Linked DNA regions of Homo sapiens: regions 2, 3, 4, 5 and 6 are each linked to region 1. The links are contacts of gene promoters, found by promoter capture Hi-C in blood cells and fetal thymus (Javierre and others, 2016). All regions are on one chromosome and are shown on one strand. Each heading gives the region's core, a stretch centred on a gene start or on the middle of the fragment in contact. The rest is flanking DNA. Distances are from core to core; before and after follow the strand shown.

What was found. Contacts are between HindIII fragments. The CHiCAGO score rates a contact against its expected background, and 5 or more counts as called.
Region 2: a fragment that was not itself captured here is called in contact with the fragment with the promoter of ZFR in region 1 in 1 of 17 cell types (monocytes); the score reaches 6.4 in monocytes.
Region 3: a fragment that was not itself captured here is called in contact with the fragment with the promoter of ZFR in region 1 in 9 of 17 cell types (naive CD8 T cells, total CD8 T cells, total CD4 T cells and 6 more); the score reaches 11.9 in naive CD8 T cells.
Region 4: a fragment that was not itself captured here is called in contact with the fragment with the promoter of ZFR in region 1 in 1 of 17 cell types (total CD4 T cells); the score reaches 5.2 in total CD4 T cells.
Region 5: a contact is called between a fragment that was not itself captured here and the fragment with the promoter of ZFR in region 1, in 1 of 17 cell types (fetal thymus). The highest score is 6.8, in fetal thymus.
Region 6: a fragment that was not itself captured here is called in contact with the fragment with the promoter of ZFR in region 1 in 9 of 17 cell types (total CD4 T cells, non-activated CD4 T cells, monocytes and 6 more); the score reaches 7.9 in total CD4 T cells.

The regions. Positions count from the first base shown.
Region 1 is chr5:32,443,478-32,446,204 of GRCh38, forward strand. It overlaps ZFR (zinc finger RNA binding protein), which reads right to left and starts at 1,263. Exons shown (of 20, transcript NM_016107.5): 1 at 1,145-1,263; 2 at 752-851. The coding sequence starts at 1,181. RefSeq lists silencers at 306-645, 876-1,565 and an enhancer at 357-914. The HindIII fragment of the contact is 7,512 bases long and covers 1-2,727 here.
Region 2 is chr5:31,596,216-31,598,931 of GRCh38, forward strand. No RefSeq gene overlaps it. Among named protein-coding and RNA genes, the nearest start is that of PDZD2, 42 kb to the right of the region's middle. The HindIII fragment of the contact is 1,541 bases long and covers 625-2,165 here.
Region 3 is chr5:31,538,865-31,541,887 of GRCh38, forward strand. C5orf22 (chromosome 5 open reading frame 22) reads left to right here. Exons shown (of 9, transcript NM_018356.3): 5 at 2,085-2,147; 6 at 2,417-2,538. Among named protein-coding and RNA genes, the nearest start is that of C5orf22, 8.1 kb to the left of the region's middle. The HindIII fragment of the contact is 5,751 bases long and covers 1-3,023 here.
Region 4 is chr5:31,476,775-31,479,474 of GRCh38, forward strand. All of the region lies in intron 16 of DROSHA (drosha ribonuclease III), which reads right to left. Among named protein-coding and RNA genes, the nearest start is that of DROSHA, 54 kb to the right of the region's middle. The HindIII fragment of the contact is 479 bases long and covers 1,166-1,644 here.
Region 5 is chr5:33,426,451-33,429,150 of GRCh38, forward strand. The region is part of intron 1 of TARS1-DT (TARS1 divergent transcript); the gene reads right to left. Among named protein-coding and RNA genes, the nearest start is that of TARS1-DT, 13 kb to the right of the region's middle. The HindIII fragment of the contact is 7,594 bases long and covers 1-2,700 here.
Region 6 is chr5:31,519,543-31,522,406 of GRCh38, forward strand. It overlaps DROSHA (drosha ribonuclease III), which reads right to left. Exons shown (of 36, transcript NM_001382508.1): 6 at 1,581-1,673. Among named protein-coding and RNA genes, the nearest start is that of DROSHA, 11 kb to the right of the region's middle. RefSeq lists an enhancer at 2,636-2,805. The HindIII fragment of the contact is 1,508 bases long and covers 568-2,075 here.

The DNA of each region.
Region 1 (2,727 bases), core at 13-2,512:
AGCTCAAACAAGGCTGGGCACTCATTTATCAGCACTAGAAACTTCGCACATCTTTTCCAGTCTAAGAACTACACAATTTACAGGTGGTTGGTATGTGAATCTCTCTCCTTGCAGGAAAAACTAAAGGAACCCGATGAACACAGTGACACCCGCAGTTTGTCAGCAGGACTCGCTAGCGATGGAGCGTCTGGGGAAGAAGCCCCACGGCGGAGGAAAAGGTACCCGAGACAACGACACGTTATCTGGGCTCCGGGGGTTGAAGCACCAGGCGACGACGCAGAGAGGCGTCGCACGAGAAGCCAGTGGACCTGCGACACGGCACTCCCCGTGAGGTCCCTTCAGCCACCCTCTCCATCCCCCAAGTGGGAAGAAGATGGGAGGTGGGGGCTGGACGCGCGGAGGCGGGGACTGGGGGGCCTGCCGGGCGGCGGTGGCGGCTCCGCTCGGCGGCCGCAGGAGGCCATTTTAGTTAAGGGGCCGCTGAAGGGCCCTGAGGCCTCCACGTCCCTACACCTCCGCCGTCTCTACCTCCCCCCTACTGGGGGCCGCTCCCCGCCGCGGGCCGGGCCGGGCCGGGCAAGGCGGGGCGGGGCGGGGCGGGGCGGGAGAGGCCGCCGGGCTGGGCCGGGCCAGGCCTGCAGCGGGCCGGGGCTCTGGGATGGCTGGGGACGGGCGCGGGGGCGTCGCATCGACAGGATCCGGACCGAGGGGAGAGCAAGGGGCGAACAGAGAGAAGGCAGGATGCCGTTACCTATATTGGGCCGCAGCCGCCGCCGCCGCCGCCCCGCTGTGGGTGAATCCAAAGTAGTTGCCGGTCGCCATTTTGGCATCTTCCCCCAGCCGGCTGGGCACTGCGGCGGGCACGAAGAGTCGGGTCCCATGGCGGGACAAGAGACACAGAGGAGCCGAGACGCCGAGGGAGGGCAGGGAGAGAAAGAGAGAGGCGCCGTGAGAGCAGCCCTGGCGGGGCCCAGGCCGCGGCCGCGCCGCCTCCCCCTCCCGCCTCGCACTCCCTCACTCACTCGCACGCCCGGGTGGCGGCCGCCGCCTCCTCCCCGGAGCCTGCCCCAACCCCCGCGGCTCCCCGCTGCCCGGGGCCAGGGAGGGGGCCGGGCAGAGGCCTCGCGGGCCACATTAGACTCACCATAGGTGAAAGAAACTACAGGGCATATGGGAATCATGGGCTCGGGCTGCTGCTGCTGAACTCTGAACTCTCACCCGCTGCCTCCCTCCTCTGCCCCGCTCCTCCTCAGCGGAGAACAGACCGCCGCCTCCGACCGCACTGCGCAGGCGCGCCTGTGCTCGGCATCCTGGGAGCTGTAGTCCCCGCCGTCTTCGCGGCTCCCCCGGGCGCGTGCCGGGGCCTCGGCGGTGCGGGCGCGGGGAAGCCCGCGGGGGAAGAGGGGCCTGGCCTTCTCCGAAGTGGTGGTGACGCCGCGCGGCCGCGGGGCGACGGGGGCGTGTGCCAGAAGCGCCTCGCCTGTCCTCTGGGGAGTCGGGGAGCGTGACCAGAGAGAGTGACGTCTGTTCGCCTTTTTCTTTGCTTTCCACTGGCTTCCTTAACTTTTGCATGTGCACTTATTCCCTGCCTCCCTGTCTTCCTCGCTCATTAATTTTTCATTGGAATTCGAGCTGGGCAATTTAGGATTTTTCCTTATTTCCTGCTTTCCCGCAGCTTTTCCCCAACCTCTGAAGTGCGGAGGGAGGGAGAAGGAGAGGAGAGAAATAGAAAAAGGATGGAGAGTGCTTTTCTGTTGGACTAAAAGCACACCCTAAACATCCCTCCCGGACATACCTCTTGCTATACCCTTTCCTCGACCTGCACCCACTCCCTGAGCCATCCGGCGTATATCGGTCACCCAGCAGGGTGTCAGGCAGTGTTGTAGGTGCTGGAGATACGGCAGAGAACAAAACAAAGTCCCTGTTCCCGTGGAGTTTACGTTCTAGGAGCGGGTATATGTCAGCCAACAGCCGGTAGCCAAAACACAGAAATTCTGTCTGATGGTGACTGGAGCTTCAAGCATAAATAAAGCAGAGTAAGGAAAATAAGGGTAAGGGAGGTGCTATTTCATGTAGAGTGTGGTTAGGGAGACCACTTGAAGGAAGGAAGGACAGGCCTGGGAGATGCCTGCAGGAAGAGCAGCAAGTGGAAGGGTCCAGATGAAGGAATGAATGTTCAAGAGCAAGAAGATCAGTCTGGCTGGAGTCAAGTGAGAGGGAGACCAGATCACGTGCCAGATCTTTAGTGGTAAGGACAGAACAGTACTTGCCCCCATGTAAGCATTTCCTCTTTCCCTCTGTTTCCTCGCTTTCTTCCCTTTAGTTTCTCAGTTCGTTTTCAACCATTCTCTTTCCTCTTCCAGTCCCTCTTCTGATCGTCTAGTTTCTCTGGCCTTATGTTTCGTGTCTTCCATCAAGTACATATGTACTGCCTGCATTTCACCTCTTCCTTACCTTCTCCATGCCCATCCCCCAGACTCCCTGCTCCTCATCTCTCCTCATTGTTGGATATGAACATTAAAAGGAAATGCTGGCCGGGCGCGGTGGCTCACGCCTGTAATCCCAACACTTTGGGCGGCCGAGGCGGGTGGATCACGAGGTGAGGTCAGTGGCCAACATGGTGAAACCCCGTCTCAAAAAAAAAGAAAAAAAAAAAAAGCCGGGCGTGGTGGCGGGCGCCTGTAGTCCCAGCCACTCAGAAGGCTGAGGCAGGAGAATCGCTTGAAC
Region 2 (2,716 bases), core at 145-2,644, 850 kb before region 1:
AGAGGAAGACATGTTAGGTTCCCTCTAGGGGAGCTAACTGAAAAACTATAGGTTGAAATTGATATAGTGATACAGGAGTATTTGTTTCACCCATGATTTGTATTGGTTTTTTACTCTGAGGAATGTAACCTCGTAATAAGGTGAGATATATCACTGATAATGTAGCCACAGTGTCATTAAGAGTTTGTGTTTGGTCTCCATTTAAATTAATTCTAACCTTCCCTAAGGTATTTATAAGGAGGTAAGAAAAGGTCCATTTGGTTTCCTCAGAGCATCCTTATTCTTTTTCTTTGACCTGTTGCTGTCATTTCCATTTTAGTTTTCTACAATCCATTTTGAAATATTCAGGCTTTTTGCAGTAATTGCAAAGCAGGGGATTGGGTCAGTTTGGGAACTTTTTAGGCTGTTTAGGGGTTACAAATTGGTTGGACAATTGTTTTAATTGTAAACTCGTGATCTTATTTGCTTTTCCTCCCTGCTTAACTTCCCTTTCCTTTTATTTCTGGGTTAGGGTACAGGACATTTGATCAGCAAAATTAACTAGATCATGAGTTTGAGAGGTACCCCAAATAGGGCATTGTCTTTTTGTTATAACTGCCAATTCTTCACCTAATCCACTTACAAAGCTTGAGTTAAGGAGAATATCATTTTGGTGATTAGTATAACTTTCTTCTGATAAGCCTGAATATTATTTAAATGTTTTTCAAATTTTTCATAGTATGACATTACGGCCTTATCAATATTTTATTTGCATTGTTGTATTTTGTTCCAATCTTTAGAAACCAAAGGGAATAGTGGCTAGTAAAACTTTGGCGGTATTGCAGACCCATTCATGATCCTCTAAAGGATTTCTCCAACTTGCCTTTGCTATCTAATCTTCGGCTTTAATTTCTTTTTTTTTTTTTTTTTTTTGAGACGGAGTCTTGCTTTGTCACCCAGGCTGGAGTGCAGTGGAGCGATCTCTGCTCACTGGAAGCTCTGCCTCCCAGGTTCACACCATTCTCCTGCCTCAGCCTCCTGAGTAGCTGAGACTACAGGCGTCCACGACCACGCCCGGCTAATTTTTTGTATTTTTAGTAGAGACAGGGTTTCATCATGTTAGCCAGGATGGTCTCGATCTCCTGACCTCGTGAACCACCTGCCTCAGCCTCCCAAAGTGCTGGGATTACAGGCGTGAGCCACATGCCCAGCCTGGCTTTACTTTGTAACACTAAATGTGAACCAACTGAAATAAATCAGAAAATCTAGGATTATAAGTGTGAATGTTTAATTCAAATTCTCTAGCAAATTGTGCTCACTTCGGCAGCACATATACAAATTCTCTAGCAAATTAACCAGGCATCGTGGTGCATGCCTGTAATCCCAGCTACTTGGTAGGTTGAGGTGGGAGGATCATTTGAGCCCAGGAGGTGGAGGTTGCAGTGAAGCGAGATTACACCACTGCACTCCAGCCTGAGTGACACAGCAAGACCCTGTCTCAAAAACAAAACAAATTCTCTAGCAAATCCAGTAGCGGTCCTGAAGAGGATCCAGGAATTCTTTAAACCAAGGCAGATTCTCCTCTACTAGACATAGGGTATTCCCAAAATGGAGTCAGAACAGCAGAAGGAGGAGGCAGAGGTGAAGGAAGGAAGGAAGGGAGGAAGGGAGGAAAGGAGGAAAGGAGGAAAGGAAGAGGGAAGGAGGGAGGGAGGGGTGAGGAGAGAGGGAAGGTAAGTCCAAACAAAGAAGTTTTGACAAAAGAGAAAGAAGAGCTGAAGAAGGAGAAATTTCAGCAGTCTTTTTCAATTTAAAAATTGTTTTAGGGCCGGGTGCGGTGGCTCACGCCTATAATCCCAGCACTTTGGGAGGCCGAGGCGGGCTGATCACAAGGTCAGGAGATCGAGACTATCCTGGCTAACACGGTGAAACCCCATCTCTACTAAAAAATACAAAAAATTTAGCCGGGCGCGGTGGCGGGCACCTGTAGTCCCAGCTACTTGGGAGGCTGAGGCAGGAGAATGGCGGGAACCCGGGAGGCAGAGTTTGTTTGCAGTGAGCAGAGATCACGCCACTGCACTCCAGTCTGGGCAACAGAGCGAGACTCCGTCTCAAAAAAAAAAAATTGTTTTAGGCACTTTTGTTTTCTTCTTGCAAAGAAATGATTTTATCAGAACCTCTTTTGAAGCTTCCAAGTACCACTGAAAATCAATCTGCCAGTTGCTTTATTTTATTTTAGTGCCAGCTTTTTCTAATTGAGTGTGCAAACTAGGTTAGGTACTTAAAAGTTACCCCCATTTGGCCATTATAATTTGGCTCATTTGGTCATTGTGAGTTATGTGAGACCATTTTTCTAAATATTTGCATATAAAAGTGCCATAAATATTAAAAATGAATCTAGCTGATGTTTCTAAGGGTGGATCTCTCCATAAGGAAGAAGACTCAGTTTTAGAAGTATGATTGCTCAGAATTTAGACTTTACTTTTGAATGACCAAAAAGACCTAGTGGGAGGTGTTTTGGATTGAGTGTGCTGATTGTGGGAATAGCTCTTCAAAGTATCACCCTGGAGTCAGTTCTTCTCGTTTATGTGTCTTGGTGGTCCCAAGAGACTTGAGTGCTTAAGGCACTAGGTGATCAACTTGTATGTGTGCTCACAGGATTAAGCAAAGTTCCCCATATATTCTTCTGAAGGGATTCCCTTTAGAACAGTTTATGTCATGAGCGATAAGCTCCAAC
Region 3 (3,023 bases), core at 192-2,691, 900 kb before region 1:
ATTCTTAACTTGAGGGCCATACACAAACAGGCTATAGGCTGTGGATTGCCAACTCCTGCTCTAGATAGTATTCATTATTTTGCATTTATTAATTGGGGTAATGTATACATGGGTGATGGATAAAAATTAAGTCATACAGTACAGGTATATACAGTCAGCCCTCTGTATCCGTGGGTTCTGTATTCCTGGATTTAACCAGCCACAGATAGGAAATATTCAGAAAAAATAAAAAACAACTAGAAATAACAATACAAGAGTAAAAAATAATACAAATAAAAAACAATACAGTATAACAACTATTTACATAGGATTTACACTGTATTAGATACCACAAGTAATTTAGAGATGACTTAAAGTATATGAGAGGGTATGCATATGTTATATGCAAATACTACACTATTTTATGTCAGGGACTTGAGCATCCACAGATTTTGGTATCCACAGGAGGTCCCAGAACCAATCCCCCACGGATACCAAGGGACAAGTGTACATTGAAAAACAGCACTCTCTTATCCCCATTCCCTCAGTTCTTTGCTTCAGAAACAAATACTGTGATCAGTTTCTTGTGTATCTTTCCAGCGATATTCTATATATAAATCCTGTGTAACAGATTATTCCTTAAACAGTGATGTGCCTGATTACTCACCTAAATATTTGTAATAAATATTTGTAATGAAAGTTTCTAGAAGGTTACATAAGGAATTCAGTGGCAGTTATTCCTTTTAGAGTGCTATTAGGAAACCTGGGAACACAAGGATTTGTATAGCCTAAATACCCTTTGGTACAATGGACTTTTTAAAAAGCATATATTAAACTTTATTATTTAGTAGCAATTTTTTAAATATCATTAGGAAAGACAGATGTTCATCTTTTTTTTTTTCTTAAGAGCATGTTCAGGCTGGGCATGGTGGCTCATGCGTATAATCCCAGCACTTTGGGAGGCCAAAGCAGGAGGACCACTTGAGCCAAGGAGTTTGAGAACAGCGTAGGCAACGTAGCAAGACCCCATCTCTATTAAAAAAAAATTTTTTTTTTAATTTAGCCAGGCATAGTGGCACGTGCCTGTGGTCCAGCTACTCAGGAGGCTGAGATGGGAGGATCACTTGAGCCTGGGAGGTCAAGGCTGCAGTGAGTCGTGATCGCACCCCTGCACTCCAGCCTGGGTGACAGCGAGACCCCATCTCATAAAAAAGAAGCATGTTCAAAAGTTAGGGGAGTTAAGTTCTGTTGTTAACTCTACTGCTTATTAGCTATATGATCTTAGGAAAATTACTTAACCTTTCCGACCCATAGTTTCTTCAAGTATCAAATCAGAATAATAATCATACCCAACTCAGGATTGTTATAATGAATAAAGCACTGAAGATATGCCACAACATTGTGCTTAATGAATTTTAGCCCTTGGGTATAACCTTTTCCTGAGAATACTCCTAAATAGGATTACTGGGGCCAGGTGTACCCACCTATATAATGGATCCATGTAGCTGTGCTAAACAAGGGGAAACATTATCCTACAAAGTTTGTATAGCAAGCCTCTTTCTCCCCTTGTGTGGTGCCTCCTGACCGAGGTTCTATGTCTTTGACATTCTACCTCCAGTATTGCCTTTGTACTTCAGAGATCTCTTCTGTTGTTAGAGAAATGGCTGCAAAGTGAACATAGGGAGTTCTTTGTTGTTGTTATTAAAGATATGTATATTTCCTGTAAACAGCTAAGTCTGTTTAGATCCTAGGACATGGCATTTATATAGCAGAATATTATTTAAAATATTTTCATCTCGTGACCCATTAGCCACCAAGTATGCTTCCTTAGGTAATTTTTACATAGTAGTACCATGCCCAGCTGGATAGAGTTGCCTTGAAGAAGTGATATTTACAATAAAACAAAATTTTACAATATTTACAATAAAATTATTACAATAAAAATCTAAAGTATACATTTTGCCTGATTCTCCCATACATACCTTTAAATAATTATCTAAGATGTTCTTGTATCACAAGGAAGGTTGTCTCTTCCTTAAAGCATATCATTAAAAAATTTTAACTTTTTTTTTTCTGGTATGTGGATTTTTTGTTTTGTTTTCCAGGAAGAGTACAAAATCTTACAAGAGCTGTACCAATTTAAGAAACCTGGCACCAACCTAACAGAGGTATCCTCCATTTGTTTCTTTGGGGTTTTATTCATTTATCATATAACTAATAATATCTTGCAAATTACCACAGTGATCTCAAAGACTGCTCAAAGTGTGTGTGTGTGTGTGTGTGTGTGTGTGTGTGTGTGTGTGTGTATTGGCGAAGCCCATGGTTAGTACTTGAAAATTATGTTTTAACTAATAGAGCCAAGTTTTTTTTGTAATGGGATGTTGCTTGTTTTTTGAAAGAATAACTATATAATCTCAGCTTTTCAATGTATTTAAAGGAAGATTTGGTAGATATTGTTGATACTCGAATTCATCAATTAGAGGATTTAGAAGCCACTTTCGCTGATTTGTGTGATGGTGATGATGAAGAAACGGTACAGAGATGGGCTTCAAACCCTGGGTAAGACTCTCAAACATTTTTTTCCCCCAACTCTACTAACTTTCAGTCCTAGATATGTTCCTAAATTTGCAAGATACATTGCTTTTAAAAAAGTAGTATTCAGCTACTTGGGACACTGAGGCAGGAGAGGACCACTTGAGGCCAGGAGTTCCAGACCAGCCTGGGTAATGTAACAAGACCCTGTCTCTAAAAAAAGGTTTTTTAATTAGCCAGATATGGTGGCACCTACCTGTAGCCACTACAGCCACTGCTCCCAGCTACTTGGGAGGCTGAAGTGGGAGGATTGCTTGGGCCAAGGAGTTTGAGGCTGTAGTGGGCTGTGATCATGCCACTGCACTCTACCCTGGGTGACAGAGACTTGTCTCAAAAAAGAGAGAAAAAAAAGAATTAGTATTAAATTTCAACACATTTACTAACAATAGTAGACATTATTGAGTGTTTTCTGTGTACCCTTTATCTAAGATTTTTCCTTGCCTTATCTCATG
Region 4 (2,700 bases), core at 155-2,654, 970 kb before region 1:
GCATGGGCTATATCTCTCACACCCAGCCTGGCAAAAAGACACTCCATAAACATTTGTGGAATGACTTTCTAAAGCAGACTAATAACTTGGCCACTCGCACTCAGGCTGCCATGAATTCACTAATGTTAATGAATTGGCTCTTTTGGTTTGTCTGCCTTGCCACTTGTTTATGTTGGGGATTTATGGAGCCATGTCACTGAGGGCTAGGAAGTAATTTTTATCTTGTTGGCTGAAATAAATAGGACATGATATAAATGAGAAATGAGAGCGGGTAAGCTAAGGTTAGCAGGAATTCCGCCAACTCTGGGACTGGAACTGTGACAACAGCTCATTATTCGGGAAGAACTGGAGTTTGTGTTTCAGGGAATGAATCTGGACAGTCATTAATGAACTGACAGACTTTATAAACTGTTTCTTAGAGACCCAATTCTCTCAGTTTATATTGCTTGATTATTTATATGGTTATTTGGGGAGGGGGTAATTTGTTAGAGAATCTGTATTAAGAATATGGCTGCTTATAAGAGTATTTCTCAACTGTTAGTACTCAACTTTAAGAAATACAAAAATATTATCCCCTTTCTCTACACTGACAGTAACTGTATGACTGCGTTTCTGTGTCTTCTGGATATTCCTGCTGAGACATCCTAATAATCTTATTTTCTAAAATACGTATTAACAAGTCTTTTCTAAATTTTCCAAATGTATATTAAGTTGTGGTACTAATAGATGGTTTTGCAAACTACACTTGCCTCCTGGAAATTTTGCAATACTCTCCCACCTCCTGGCCCCCTGCCAGCCACACCTGAGAACTACTGCTCCAGATGGGGCAATTTCAAAGAATCAATTTTCTAGACAGTCAATTTGCAAAACTGATTCAGGATTTGCAATGCTTTACTAGGGCAGTAATATAAGCAATGAGTAGGCTTTCCCCTAAGTGTGATCTCACTATCTTGAATCACGACCTACCTTTGCCCCAGTTACACTCAGAATAAAACCTTATACTCAGTCTAGTTCATATCAACTATTTTGCGACCAAAGGTAGAGAGTGGGATAGGAAAGAAACAAAAATTTGAGAAAAAATTTTAAATCTCAATAAACTGATTGCTCTATGATTTGGTTTCTGGTAAACTGGTCAACATTGAATAATCCTTGGTTTAAACTATCAAGCTTACTTTTGGGTAAAGTTGTATAAAGCAACTGGGACAGCTATCTTCAAAAGGGATAAACTGAAGAATTAGAGAAATATGATGATGACTTATAAAACTTGAATTTTCAGTTAGATATTATAATAAACTGACATAAACAAAAAGCAAGTCAGAATGAGAAAACCATAAAATACCTGAAAAATGCGGAAAGTTACTCATTCTCAAAGAAGTTCAAGAAACATGCAAATAGTAACATCAGACTTTTCGCTTATCAGATGGACTAAACCAGGAATGTCCAATCTTTCAGCTTCCCTGGGCCACAGTGGAAGAATTGTCTTGGGCCACACATAAAATACACTGACACTAACGACAGCTGATGAGATTAAAAAGAAAAATCCAAAAAAAACTCAAAATGTTTTACGAAAGTTTACGAATTTGTGATGGGCCACATTCAAAGCCGTCCTGGGCCATATGTGGCCCATGGGCTGTGGGTTGGACAAGCTTGGACTAAACTGTAAAAGACTAGTAACATCCTGGCCAGGTGTGATGGCTCACGCCTTTAATCCTAGCACTTTAGGAGGCTGAGGCGGGCAGACCTGAGGTCAGGAGTTCGAGACCAGCCTGACCAACATGGCAAACCCCTGTCTCTACTAAAAATACAAAAATTAGCCAGGCATGGTGGCAGGTCCCTGTAATCTCAGCAACTTGGGAGGCTGAGGCAAGAGAATCGCTTGAACCCGGGAGGCAGAGGTTGCAGTGAGCCGAGATGGCACCACCGCACTCCACCCTGGGTGAGAAGAGTGAGACTCTGTCTCAAAAAAAAGACTAGTAACATCCAGTATTGGCAGGTGTATAGAAAAAGAGTACTTTCTGTTGGTCAGAAAGAGTACTGTTGGTCAGAACTACAAATTGGTATGTCCTTTCTAGAGAAAACTTGGCCAACATCATTCTGAATTTAAAATGTACATACTATCTTAACACATAATTTCACTACTAGAACTCTACCTTACAGAAACAAACAAATGCAACAGGATAGACACAGACTATTTCTGAAGCATTTATACAAAATGGGGAAACAATGGAGAACTCCAGAATATTTGTCACCATAGGAATTATAAACAAATTAATGTCCATCCATACTATAAAATGCTAAGTATGCATCAAAGAATGAAGCAAAGCATTTACAGTACAGAGAATGCCTGAAGTATCTGAGTTTAAAAAAAAAAGGAAGTTGTGTAACATATTGTTATTCCACTTGAAGAAAAAAAGCATAATTCTCCTTAAAGCAGTTAAAACAATACAAATCAAGCCATTTACAGCATTTACCCATTTTCACATGTTCAGAAGGAAGTGTTCACTGTTTTTACTTTACATACTTTTGTATTGTTTGTATACACACACATACACACAGAGTCAACTCAATCAAAAGCAAAAGCAACACTTCAATTTTCTAAAGAAAGAAATTGTTCTTTTCAATAAATGGTGCTGGGTCAATTGGATACCCACGTTGAAAATACTGAGTTTTGACCCATATCTCATACGAATTGTGAAAACA
Region 5 (2,700 bases), core at 137-2,636, 980 kb after region 1:
GGTCTGTGTATCTAAGTGTGTTTTTGTAGTGGCTGGTAATGGTCTTTTCTTTCCATAATTAGTGCCCCTTTCAGGACCTCTTGTAGCACAGGTTTGATAGTAATGAATTCCCTTAGCATTTGCTTATCTAAAAAGGATCTTATTTATCCTTCACTTAGTTTGGTGGGATATGAAATTATTGGCTAGAAATTTTTTTCTTTAAGAATGTTGAATATAGGCCCCCAATCTTTTCTGGCTTGTAGAGTTTCTGCTGAAAGGTCAACTGTTAGCCTGGTGGTTCCCTTTGTAGGTGACCTGCCCTTATTTCTTGCTGCCTTTAACATTTTTCCTTTCATTTTGACCTTGAAAAAACTGATAATTATGTGTCTTGGAATGATCTTCTTGGGTAATAGCTCACGAGGGTTCTTTGTATTTCCCAGATTTGCATGTTGGCCTCTCTAGCAAGGTTGGAGAAGATTTAATGGACAATATCCTAGAATATATTTTCCAAATTGCTTGGTTTCTCTCCTTCTTCCTCAGGCACACCAATGAGTCATATATTGGGTCTCTTTCCACAATCCCATATTTCTTGGAGGTTTTATTCATTCTCCTTTATTGTTTTTTCTTATTTTTGTCTGACAGTTATTTCAGAGGATCAGTGTCAAGCTCTGAGATTTTTTTCCTCAGCTTGGCCTATTCGGTTGTTAATACTTGCCATTGCATTATGCAATTCTTGTAGTGTGTTTTTCAGCTCTATCAGATCAGTTTGGTTCCTTTGTATAATGACTATTTTGTCTATCAGTTCCTGTATTTTTTTATTGTGATTCTTAGCTTCTGTGGAGTGGGTTTCAATGTTCTCCTGAATCTCAATGACCTTTATTCCTATGTATATTCTGAATTCTATTTCTATCATTTCAGCCATTTCAGCCTGGTTAAGAATGCTTGCTGGGGAACTAGTGTGATCACTTGGAAGAAAGAAGGCACTCTGGCCTTTTGAGTTGCCAGAGTTCTTGTGCTGGCTCTTTCTTATTGTGTGGGCTGATGTTCCTTCAGTCTTTGAAGTTGCTGTCCTTTGTTTTTGTTTTTGTTGTTGTTTTTGTTGTCCTTTGATGCCCTTGGAAATTTGATTATGTATGATATAAGGTGAGTTCAGTTGATTGGATTCAATTCTTGTTCACTACTGGGTCTTGGAGAAGCCTCCTCTGATTACTGTTTCCATGCCCACGTTTCTTTTGTTGAGTGTTCTGGTCCACTGGGCTCCCTTCGGTAGGGGCTGCAGTTAGTAGACAAGCTGTATCCTTGCCAAGTCAGCCCTAATCTGCTGTCTGGGTACTTCCTGGAAAACATGGGTTGTGCCTGTCTGCAGAATTCAGGCAGAAGTAGGACCTCTGGGTTGTAAACTCTAGTGGATGTGGCCTGTCTGGCTATGGGAGGGGAGGATGGATGGAGTTGCCTGCCCTGCTGTAGGGGTTTTCAGGGCAACAGGAGGCTGAACTCTTTGGTAAATTCAGGCAGAAGTAGAACCACTGGGCGAGAAGCTCTAGCAGATGTGGCTCCCCTGGCTACCAGTGGTGGGAGTGGGTGAGGATAACTGCCTTGTTGTCCAGATGCTTCCTGGAACAACAGGAGGCTGCACCCACTAGCTGAATTTCCACAGAAGCAGGATCGCTGGGCCCAAAGCTCTACAGGTGTTGCCCACCTAGCTATCAGTATCAGAAATGTATGGGATCATGCACCCTACTGTCTGGGTGTTTCCCAGGACAATAGGAGACTGCACTCTCTGGCTGAGTTCACACAGAAGTGGGACCACTGGGCTAGAAGCTCTAGCAAGCATTGGCCACCTGGCTAGCACTGGGGTGGTGTGGGTGGGTGGAGTGGCTGGCCGAGTTTAGGGGAAAGAGAGACTGCTGGACTGGAAGCTCCGAGCCACGTTCAGCAAGAGGGGGTGGAGCAATCTTACTGTTCCCAGGCACCACAACTGTGGCCTCTATTGGGGCTGATGTGCTGGTGCTAGTCTGCTTCACAGCCCAAGGCTTGTAGAGGTCCCCTTGAATCCAAGAGTTGCTCCCACATCTGTGTGGCTCTCTGCCTCAGTCTAGAAGCATAGTGCAGGGGGAGGGGTCATGGGAAGGCTGAGGGGATTGTCCTATTCCCAGTCTTTAAAGCATGAATCCACCTGGGGGCTCTCTCTCACTCTTTGCCATGTTGGAGAGGTTCTCCTGACTCTACGCTGAGCCCACACAGGCTGGTGCCCACCTTTGCTCCTCTCTGCTCCCTGTGTTCTCCTGCTGCCTTGATGGATCCCAACATGGCTTCTCAGATGATTGACCTGCAGGGTCAGTGTTCACTAGCCCTTTTGTTTCCTTTTTGTGAGAATGGCGCATATGAGCTCCTTCTAGTCCTCTATCTTGGCTTCATCCCCTGTATTGCTTATCTTTATGTTGAGATATTTTATTTCTTCAAGCAGACTGTAAACTCTCTAAAGGCACAAATCACAGAACAGCCTAAAACAAAATAGGCATTAGTAGATATATTCTTGAGGAACATAAGGTCTAAGTTGTATATACTATCCAGATTATGCATTACATTCTGAGAAAATAGTTTATGAGAGTTATTTCCTAAGGAAAAAAAAAAAACTCCTAACTAAATAAAATTTGCAGTAAGAGAGAGAATCTTTGCTTTTGTTGCAATTTCTTTTGATGTTTTTGTCATGAAATCTTT
Region 6 (2,864 bases), core at 72-2,571, 920 kb before region 1:
ATGTTGATTGTATCACAAGGATATTCAGTAACAACGATAAGCAATGGGGCCTCCTTGCCTTTTTTCAAATTTGTATGGGAAAGGCCTGCAGGTTTCAACACCACATTTGACTCTTTGGGGATGGTATCCATCAGGTTCATCGTGAGCTACCATTCTTCATCATGTTAAAGACAACTGTTAATATTTCTAGTTTACTAGTTTTTACTCACATATGGATGCTGATTTTAGTTTAAATACCTAAAAGGTAAGTACTGAGATAACCCTACAGATTTTGACACATACAATACAGATTTTCTAATATTAACTTTTCTATCCATGCAGTCTTGGAATAAACTCTATCTGTTATTTTAACAAACTACTGAAAACATTTGCTAATATCCTAATTCGTGTTTTTATATCCATATTTGTAAGAGAGATTGCTGTGTCGTTTTTGTGTCATTTTTTTTCCCTTGGTTAGGTTTTGCCATCTGGTTTTTCCTGCTACTACAGAATGAGCTGAGCTTTCCTTCCATCTTTTTTTAGTGTTCAAGACCACTTTAAAGCTTTTTTTAGAGGTGGTGCAAAGTAAGCTTTTTCCATTTTTCGAGTTATTGACCTATTAAAGTTTTCTGCTTCTTGTGTGAAATTATTTTTGTTTTCTTAGAAATCAACCCATCACATTCAAGTTAATTTTTTAAACGGTTTTAAATTTTTTAATTTCTTTTCATTCCTGTAACAATACACTTTCTCAAACCTAATGTTATGTAGATTTTTCTTTTATTTCCCACTTTAAAAATTGTATTTGCATTTACTTACAATATAGTTATATCACTGTAGTTCTATTTCCATTTCATTAATTTATCTTTAAATCCCTTTTTCTGCTTTTCTTAAGCTCCACCAATTTCTATAGCCAAGTGCTCAGATAATAATTATATACATAGTTACCATTTATTTGGCACTTACTTCAGGCCCAGTTCTAAGTGTTTGACATGCATTATCTCAATGACCCCTTATCACTCAAGAAGGTACATATAACTGTCCTTATTTTACAAACGAAGACACTGATAACTTTGCCCAGTAATAAAATTGGGAGAGCTAATAACTGACCCCGAATCTGTCAGATTCTAGAGTGCTGTTCTTCATTACCATCATATTAATGTAAGACCACAAAATTTTACTTCGGGATATAGAATTGATTACACCCTTTAAGTTTTGGGTGATAGCAATCTCAATGTCATTTTCTAATGAAAATATGACTGCAGTTTTGCTCTTTTTTTCTGAAACATGTAAATTTAAGAGCATAATTATGAATTTCCAAGGTTTTTTAAAATGATTAATGTATAGTTTTATAGCACTGTGGTCAGAAAAAGTGGTCTGTATAATTTCTAATTTTTGGAAATTTATCAAGATTTTCCTTGTGCATAATCAATGCATCTTGAAAGTAAAGTCTTTTAAATTACAGTCTGCTTTAGCTTTTCACAGGTCATCTTGGACAGACTCTGAGGCCATTATGAAGACTTGGCTGTTGCTCCATACAAGCACAAAATCTGAATTCAAGGAGATAATCCTATGACTTCTTTCAGTGTCAACTCCTTGCTTACCTTCCAGATCTCTTATACTCTTTTTTGTAGGACCTTTCCAGAGATGGTGATCTTCGGTTGTCTCGATGCCTGTGTCTCTCCCGTTCTCGCTCTCTTAAAGGAATTAATACACAGAGCTGTTTTCAACAGAAAGACTCAAAAACACCATCTCTTTTCACTGAATTCATCTTGTAAATAAATGGACCACATCTAGGAATTTTTCAGGCACTGTTCACTGGGGGACATTTTTATGCCTTCTTAATTTATTAGAGGATAAAGGAGCTTTTCACTTTACAGAAGTTAACTAACTTGGAGAATTTTTGCAGTTTTCTTTAAAGAAAGAAGTCATACATGATGCTACGCAATAATGGGAATTTTATCCTAATCTTCCCTTAAAACCTTGCAATCAGCCAATCCTTGGTTATTTAACCTAGAGGGAAAACTCTAAAGAACTCCACATCCTATTGATTTCTAAAAAATGCTCTATTTTACCTATCAAATAAATGTAAATTATAAAGCTTTTATAGTGAAAATTAGGACAAGGTTCTATAATGAAAGAGCTCTTAATGCTTATGGCTTATAGGCTTGAGTTGTAGATCTAGCTATCACTAACCTGCCATGAGGCCATGACTAAGTCACTTGAATGCTATTTTTCATCTGGAAAAAAAACTAAATAGAGATGTTGGGCTTACTTAATGTAAAAAAAAATAGATGAGGAATTTTTAAAACCTTCCAATGTAAAACTGGGGTTTAATAATATTAATAGCTTTTGAGCCTATTTAACAATGAGGACCTAGAAGAGAAATCTGAACTCTAGTGTGTCTGAATCAGAACTACAAGTCTAAAGGAAGTAACCTTCCAATCTTAGAACAGGAAAAATAAAATGCTATATTAACCTGAGTCCAGAAAGAAGACCATTAAAATGTTTGAACTCAAAAATATCCCCCAACCTATCACCAAACAGAAATGTCAATACATTGAAAATAGAACTTACAAAACTGACAGAGATCGGTGAGTGCTTAGGTATTAAAATAGAAATTGCTTTCCACTTAAAGATTCCCCTGTTCTAAAGGAAGACTCCTTTGAATAATGTTTCTGATATATATACAATCCTCAGATATATACCAGCTATCCCAAATAAAGCAGCCAGAGATTTGGATTCTACATTCTTCATCTCATACACTTCTAAAATCAGAGTTTACATTTGGGCAGTAAATCTTAGTTATTGTATAGAAATTAGTGAACCATGCCACATGTCAAAGATATATGTAATTTGTAATGGCACGGCTGTTGAAAAAAATAATT